Regions from separate parts of the Homo sapiens genome. Here region 2 is linked to region 1. The links are contacts of gene promoters, found by promoter capture Hi-C in human tissues and cell types (Jung and others, 2019). All regions are on one chromosome and are shown on one strand. Each heading gives the region's core, a stretch centred on a gene start or on the middle of the fragment in contact. The rest is flanking DNA. Distances are from core to core; before and after follow the strand shown.

Evidence for each region. The method cuts DNA at HindIII sites, captures the fragments that hold promoters and counts their contacts. A contact is called where the count stands out against the background at its distance.
Region 2: a fragment that was not itself captured here is called in contact with the fragment with the promoter of CDC73 in region 1 in 1 of the 25 tissues and cell types used here (dorsolateral prefrontal cortex).

What each region holds. Positions count from the first base shown.
Region 1 is chr1:193,119,354-193,123,322 of GRCh38, forward strand. It overlaps CDC73 (cell division cycle 73), which reads left to right and starts at 2,678. Exons shown (of 17, transcript NM_024529.5): 1 at 2,678-2,978. The coding sequence starts at 2,848. RefSeq lists enhancers at 2,175-2,821, 2,726-2,795, 2,822-3,466, 3,066-3,115 and a silencer at 2,486-2,565. The HindIII fragment of the contact is 7,057 bases long and covers 1-3,969 here.
Region 2 is chr1:194,386,366-194,390,463 of GRCh38, forward strand. No RefSeq gene overlaps it. Among named protein-coding and RNA genes, the nearest start is that of LINC01031, 1.1 Mb to the left of the region's middle. RefSeq lists a silencer at 741-941. The HindIII fragment of the contact is 4,998 bases long and covers 1-3,866 here.

The DNA of each region.
Region 1 (3,969 bases), core at 1,428-3,927:
TGTTTGCTTACTCTCTGGATGGACTGAGGCTTTTCCTTGCTAGGGAGCTATAACTCCACACACTGATTTCCCCCAAACTTTAGGAAAAGTAAAGAGAACTAACAGAGTCCTAAAACTAAAATTATCAACAGTTTCGAAAAACAAATTTCATGGCCCTTCAAATTGCCATTAGTCATGATTGATTGATGACAATAAATCAACCCCTTCTGGGACCCACAGATTATCTCTTCTTGAATTAACAGCCTCCCCCTACCCATGTATTTGAAAATTTTACTTCCAATCCTACGTTCTACCATTACAGAGTAATATAAATAAATGCTTCATGAGACTTATGCTACCTGCCGAATTATCCCTAGTAGGTTCAAGTGCATTTCCAAAATACTTACCTAAGCAGACTTTGATTGATCTAAAACCTGGCAATTTGGTCCTTTGGAAAAGGAACCAGAATAAAACTGTCCTTGGGCACTGGTGGAAAGAACCTTATTGGGTACTGTTAGCAATTGAGGTAGTGGTTTAAACTCCAAGGTAATGATGTTGGATCCATCGTTTCCAACTAAAAAGACATACCACTTTCTTCTGATTGCTGGGCATTTACTCTAACAGAAGACATAAAACTAAAGATTTTTTAGGAATTCTTCAGGAGCTAATATCTGGAGATGTGGACTGCTTTTGCCCAAGACAAAGAAACCAGACTATTTTTCTGTTTTTTTCTAATTAATTTTCTAATTTTTCAGCTCTACCACTAATCTTGCCTTTTATTGTATTTTGACATCCTCCAATGAACCAGTATTGGTAGGGCAATTATAAGGGTACTTAGATAAAAACAAAAATGATCTACAATTGCTTCTGTAGACACAGGGTCTAGGTATGTTGCCCAGGCTGGTCAGGAAAAAAATGATCTACAAATTTCAATGCTTTAACTGTTAAAAGCAACAACTTACTAATGACTTATCTTACCACTTTTTAAAATTCATTAACCTAAAAAACATAATTTCTCTGAAAAGAGAGACTTTAATCATTATTTGAGTATGAAATAAAATTAAGTATCGTTTGAAGGGACTATAGTCGAGCCTCCTAATCATGAAATCTTGGCTTCCTTGAGCTTATCTTTCCATTCATTACTTCAACATTTATTAGAAGCCTCTATCCATGTATTAACTCGATATTTACTAGGAGCTTCCATCAATTTATTGAATTCATCCATTTATTACTAATATGTACCAAATAATGTTAGACAGTAGGATATGAGGACACAGATCTATGGTGTTTCAGTTTTGTGGATGCAGGCAAATAAACTATAAAGGGAAGTAATATGGTACTGAGTGCTCTGACACAGGTATGAATAGAGAATGTGGGGATAGGTAATTGTAGCCATTTCTTTATAATGTGTGTGCTTGGGGTGAGATTCAGGAGAATACTACGGGGTGAAAACATTGGTGGAACAGAAAAAAATTTCACAAACTAACAGTTGCAGAATGGCTACAGATCATATCGGAAATGAACCACACACTTCTGTATCTGTAGTCCTCTGCGTTGTGAAAAGATTGACTTTTTTCAAAACAGGTCAAGGAATTTGGTTATGTCAAACACAAAGTTGCCTCTTTTTTCCTTCTGACATGGTAAAAGAAAAAAAACAATCCCATAGGATGTGTTTGGTTGGCCATAGTATATTGAACTTATCTTAACCGTCTCAAAACGCATGTCAAGGACACCACTGAGACTTCTGAGTACCATTTAAAAAATTGGGTAGTCTGGAAGTGTTCTAAATTGGACCGTTTGGGGTTTCTGTTAGGGCAACTTTCCCATTTACATCTTGGAACACAGCCTTTTGAATATAGCCCTTCGGGATTGGCGGGGAGAAGGGACCGCGATGGAAAAAGTCATCATCCAAAGAATGAAGAGGGAGGATCCAACATTTAGGATATTTTATTGACTTGCTAGGCGCGTTTACCTTATCTTCGTATTAACCCCATTTTCTTCATTAACCAATTGATGCTGTGAGAAGCTATGTAACTTGACGAGCAGTGCCCAGAACTGTTTTTTTTTTTTTCTGGACTCGGTCTTTTCCACTCAAAACCAACAAAAAACCAAAACTCGTTCTTTTCCACATCAAAAGCAAACAAAAAACCCCAACCCCAACCCCAAGAGCCCCACTCTTTCAAAAGGGCTTCTCCGGATCACTAAGTCCTAGAGGTCTTTGGCTAGGCCTGGGTCCGATCTAAATAGGAAGGTAATTCTAGTGTTCCGCAAATCCTTGCCGAATTCCATCCCGGCCAAAGCAGGGACCCGGGGGAGCCTCTGGTCGCACCCGAGACAGTTCGTTAAATACTCAGTGCACGTGCTGGGGATGGAAGTGCTGACCCACTGCTCAGGTACGCGCGCACCTGACGCCGCTTGGTGCGCGCCGCGGGGTACTGGGTACGTGCTCCGCGCGCGCGCGCCCGGCAAAGTTCCCCGTACGTGCGCCGTACGTGGGCGCGGTGCCCCAGCGCTCAGCGTTTCAGCGAGTGAGTGGGCTCCGTGCCCAGCTGAAGTCTGGGAGGGGCACTTTTCCAGGCGGTCGCGGCTCCCCCTGGCGGCGGATGTGCCTCGCTGGAGGGGCGCAGTCAGGCGTTCTCCGCGGGCAGCCGGCGGCGGGGCCTTGCCTTACAGCGCGGGGTCCTCGGCGGCCTGGGTGGCTACTGCCCCTGCTGCTGTCGTAGGCGAGGACGGCTGTTAGTGCTGCTGCTGTTGGTTCGTCGCGGCGGCGAAGGAGGAGGAGGAAGAGGGCGAGGCGACAAGAGAAGAAGGAGGCAGGCGCGGCGGCAGCGGCGGCGCCCCGAGCCGGCGGAGGCGAGGGGGGGGAAGATGGCGGACGTGCTTAGCGTCCTGCGACAGTACAACATCCAGAAGAAGGAGATTGTGGTGAAGGGAGACGAAGTGATCTTCGGGGAGTTCTCCTGGCCCAAGAATGTGAAGACCAACTATGTTGTTTGGGGGTAAGTCCGGCATGGCTGTGGCCCAGGGGTGGCAGGGCAGAGTTGGGCGCCCCCAGGCGACCTCTTTCTTAACCCCTCCCCCCGTTTCCCCTGGGGATGGGATAAAACGGGTGTTCGGGGAAAAGAAAGTTTCTCTCTAGAGCAGAAGTTGCACTTTTAGGGTAAGGAAAGAAGGGGCGGAGCTCTAGAGCAGTTCATCACTTAAAATTTTTGAGAAGCCCAAAGGAAAGGTACCGTGGGAGTTTCTGACTTTTACAGTTAATTTTTATCAGTAGGTATGTGTACCAGCGAAGTGTGGGACTGGTGCGCAAGGGATACCTGAACATAGGTGCACAAAGGAGCACACCGTCTGGTGCCGTAGACGCCTCTTTTTGTTCTTTATTTTTTTTTTCTCTTTTCCAGGCTGCTATGTAACTATCTCCGCTGGTCTTTGCAACTCCTGGTTTATTTCATCTCCTTTCATTGTTGGGGTGGGGGTGATTCCTGTAGAAGAGAAAAGGGAATCAACCCTGAAGTTAGGACCGGAAAGAAATTTGGTGAATTTGGAAGAGTCATAAAAGTCTGTGTTAGAGAGGTCTTCAGGAGTTGGTGAAATGAGTGAGCTTTACAGATCTAAGAAATAGATGGTGCGTGTGATTTTTCGGAAGTGTATTTTAAAGGGAAATGTTTGGGAATGTTGGTCCATGTGAAGTTTTATCAGTTTAAGTCATTCAGGAAAACTTCTAGAGACGGCTCTAACAGTCATTAGGGGCCTTTTTAATGATGTCACTGTCATTGGTGCATCGCTTCTAGAATTAGAACCTTGAGCTACAACTTCCCTACTCATTTTGTTTCTTTGAATGGAAGCTTTATGAAGAGTCGATGAAAAACTAGGGAAATTTAGTTTGTTGGTTGGTATTTATTTATTTATTTTTGAGAGGGAGTCTTGCTCTGTCGCCCAGGCTGGAGTGCAGTGGCGCGATCTTGGCTCACTGCAATCTTTGCCTCCTGG
Region 2 (4,098 bases), core at 118-2,617, 1.3 Mb after region 1:
ATAATAAAACCACTGGGTATGATTTTCATTAGATTTCTCTTGCCAATGAGCATGAAAGTATGAAGTGGTTTGTGAAACTATACTCACTGATCTTGGGGAATAATTACTAAGTAGAGAAAAGAATTAGTAACTATCTTTCATTGAAATTCTCTTCTCTTTCTGGCCCTTTACTGGGCTTTCTATATGCATTAACTAATTCTCAAAACAATCTGACATTATTGTTTTTATTATTCTCATTTCAAAAGATAAAATTGGTTCTGTGTTTAAGAGACTTACATAATCACAAAAGCTAATTGCGAAGATGAAACCAAAATCCACACCATTAAACCTTTGAACATATGCTTGTTCACGGTAAGCCAGTTATGCTGCATAGCAGTCCTCCAATGTCATAGGCATATTTGGGAGAGAGTGAGGGTGCCACAGGGACCACAGCTGGCTTAGACCTCTGGATCTCAGTAGAATTTGGGGTCAGTGGGACCATCTCTCCTCAGGTCTTTGTTCTCATTCAAAAGTGGGAGTTAGCTGGTTATCTAACCCTTGGCTAACTACACTTTCTAATCTGGCTTATGGGGCATAGTGTGAAATTTAAAAAGTATACAAGAGGGAAGTTGTACTGTGATACACTCTTTAAGTAGATTATTGCAACTTCTTTCATTTGCTAACCAGCTAACTTAGAGAGATGTTTGTTATTCAGCAGTAAACCAAGACTTGATAAAAACCAGCAAGAAAACCTCAAACCTTTACCTGTCCCATCCATACCAATGTCAGATATTACTGTCTTCGATCATATTTTGTTATCAAATGGTAGTAGAAATACAAAGCTATGCCCGATCACCTGGCTTGGATCTACTTACTATATGGCCTAGACTGTGTCAGATAAATCTGTTATATGCTTGTTTCTTGTGTAAAACAATGGATAGCAAGTTCTAACCCACAAACATAATAATCAGGTAAATGTTCTTTTTGTTCCAAATTATCCATAACCCCTCTTCCTTCTCTGTCAGTGAAGTTTGCATTACCTTTCAGGCTGGCATCTTCCTCTTGCTGTAATGCTCAATGGTTTTATTCTCCCACAGACTATCTGGTGTTTCATTCTAACTGCCTAGATCTGCCTATTAGCTCTACCAAGGAAATGAGGCTGAGGTCTTTGATCCTTTAATAAACTATGTCTTGTCACTTTATACACTTAGGTCTGTGTATTATTTTCCAAGTGTTCAAGTTCAATTAAATTTTTTCAGTTGCAGGTTACAAAAAAACCTAAATCAAGTATCCTTCAACCACAGATATGATTGGTAGAAGTTAAATAATGCTGAAAAACTAGTACTGGTGTTATTTATGCACACAGTTTGAAAAGATAGGCATGACATCATCTGATCTCAGGCTTTATTCCTGGTTTTCTGGTTTTCTTGGGTTTCTCCTCCTTCCTCCTCCAGCTAGTTCCCTTTATATCCAAGTTAGAGAAAGGATCTTGGTGAAGTAAACTTTTGAGATTCAATCTGATTGGATCAATTTAGGTCACTCTTGAAGCACTGTGGCCAAGAAGAAGGAATATGCAAGGTCACTAGTTTCACTTGGTAAGCCCAGGCTTTGTGTCAGATTTTCAATAGCACATGGATTCTCCACATAATTTCTGCATAATTTTCATTATATTTCTTTCAATGTATTTTAAGAATTACGTTACTTTTCTGAATGGGCCATTTTTTCATTGCCTATTATAACTGGTATTGCTGACACAAAAAAATCTACTAAACTTTATGTATTTTTGCCTAGTTATTTCATTGATATTTTTATAATATACTGTTTTCTTTAGGAATTATAATCAGCTGCTATTAAGAGGACTGAGAAACAACGGTGAATTAAAGGAGATAAAAGTTGCTTTCGTTTTCATGCCAACAAGTCTGTAATTTGAAGTTCAGGATTTATATCAATAATTAAGCTTCTATTTTTTTCCTCCACAATACTTATCATGTGGCTTCCAGACTCATGTTTCTGTCTGCATGGCCCAAATTGAGTTGCTGAATATCCATTTATCATACCTTTATTCCAGGGATTCAGTATGACAGTAAATGTAAGCACCCCGGCTACCTAGAACACTCTTCCCCTCTCTTTTATGGAGTCATCCACAAAGTATTCAAAGGTTCAACTTGTACCTTATGTGTGAAATAATAGTTACATAACCAAACTTACCTGCAATGATTACTGGGAAATATCCTCCAAAGGGGATAACATGAGTAAGAAAAAAGTAAAGGGTAGTAGGGTAGAAAACAAACTGTCTCTTCCACAAATTCAGATATTCAGATATTTTGTCAAATTATTATTTAATCTTAATACATTGACTTTTTTGCTATTTTTAATGTTCTTAACTGATATTTTTAATACTTAAAGGTTATAAAATGGTAATAATAGCAATGATAAAAGTAATGATAATAATTTAGTGATTTTTTTAGTATATACATTTTGCTAGGCCTATGATAAGCAATATTAAAATGTTTTAAATTGACAGAGAGTTCTAAGGAACCAACTAGAGAACAACAGCTTTCCCTTTATATTTGACGTCATGTAATTTGAAGCCTAAATATTTCCAACTGTATATTTTTTTAATTTTAATGTCCATTTTACAATTTTTAAAAGTTTCAATTTTACCTTGCTTTCTAGTTTGTCTGAAATTAACATTGTTATGCCAGTTTTCATTACTAATTTCCATCATAATTTTGTTTGAACTTTTCTAATCAGTATTATATAGTCTTTTTATTTGGGAGTTATTGTCTCCTATTACCTAAATTTTAAATGGAAACAGTTTGTCCATTCAGCAAATATTTAATGAAGGCTTAATATATTAGCCCGGGTACTATTCTTGATATTTCCCATGAAAAATAACTTTGTATTCAATCTGACATTACTTCTATTCGAAGTGATGAGTTTAAAATATGTATATATATATATATATATATATATATGTATATGTATATATATATATGTATATGTGTATATATGTGTATATATATAACTGATTGATTTTTTTTCTATTATCTTGCTTTATGACTTTAGTTTTATCTCAATTCCTCATCTTATGGAGGTGCATTTTTTATTTTTTACTTATTTAAAAGTAATGCTTCCTATTTGTATTGTATTAGCAAGTATTATTACATACATAAAAACATTAAAACTGCATTTCCTAGCTAAGTCAAGAATAAAAGCATATGATTTTTCTCACCCAGTAACATCATTCCTTCTTTTTTTTTTTAATGTGAAAAACAAGGGGCCAGGTAATTATAAAGGAGATTATAGTGCTATTTAAGTTGTGGGCACACGCATTACATTTATAAAGGGAGCTTCTCTCATCTAGAGAATGCTCTTCCCAGAGTGAAATATGAGGCACACAGGATAACTGAATAAACATTAAATAATGAAAGTGGGTGCCTATAGAGGCAGGAGACACATATTTAACTAACTACTGAGAGACACAAGAACTCCTCCAGATGCCATCTCCCAATATTTCAAACTGGGTAATGCATATTTTTTATTTAGCTGACCATTATCCAAATTCCCAACTTGAGAGACTCCAAAGATACATGGGAAGCAGGATGCCATCTCGCACTAAAAATAAGTAAAGTAGCCAGAAATTCCTGCTCCTTGAACTTATCTACCAGATGACAAATGTCTGTCTAGTAGGGTAACAGCATACCGAGAGGCTTTACCACTTTCTGGATGTGTGATCTTGGCATAGTTACTTTTATCTTCCGCCTCATCTTCCTCAAATATACAGTGGGGATAAAATGGACATAATAACACTCTCTAGCTTCTTGGGTTATTATGAGTTTTAATTAAAATATGTAAAGAACTTAGAACAGCCAGTAGCACATGGTGAGCAGTGTATTTGGTAAATAGATAAAAATATACCTGCTACAGGACTTTGAATTTTAATGTAGTGATTCAATGTTACAGAACCCTTTAGATAGCTTTAATTGGCACCTTCAGAGTCAAGACAATGTAAGCATCCTTAGAAACCAGTCCTAGTGGCTGAATGTTGGCTATGCCTTCCCTTCTTGGTTCCTATTTGAGCCTGGTGCTGCAGGTTTCCCTTAGATTCTCTGAGCT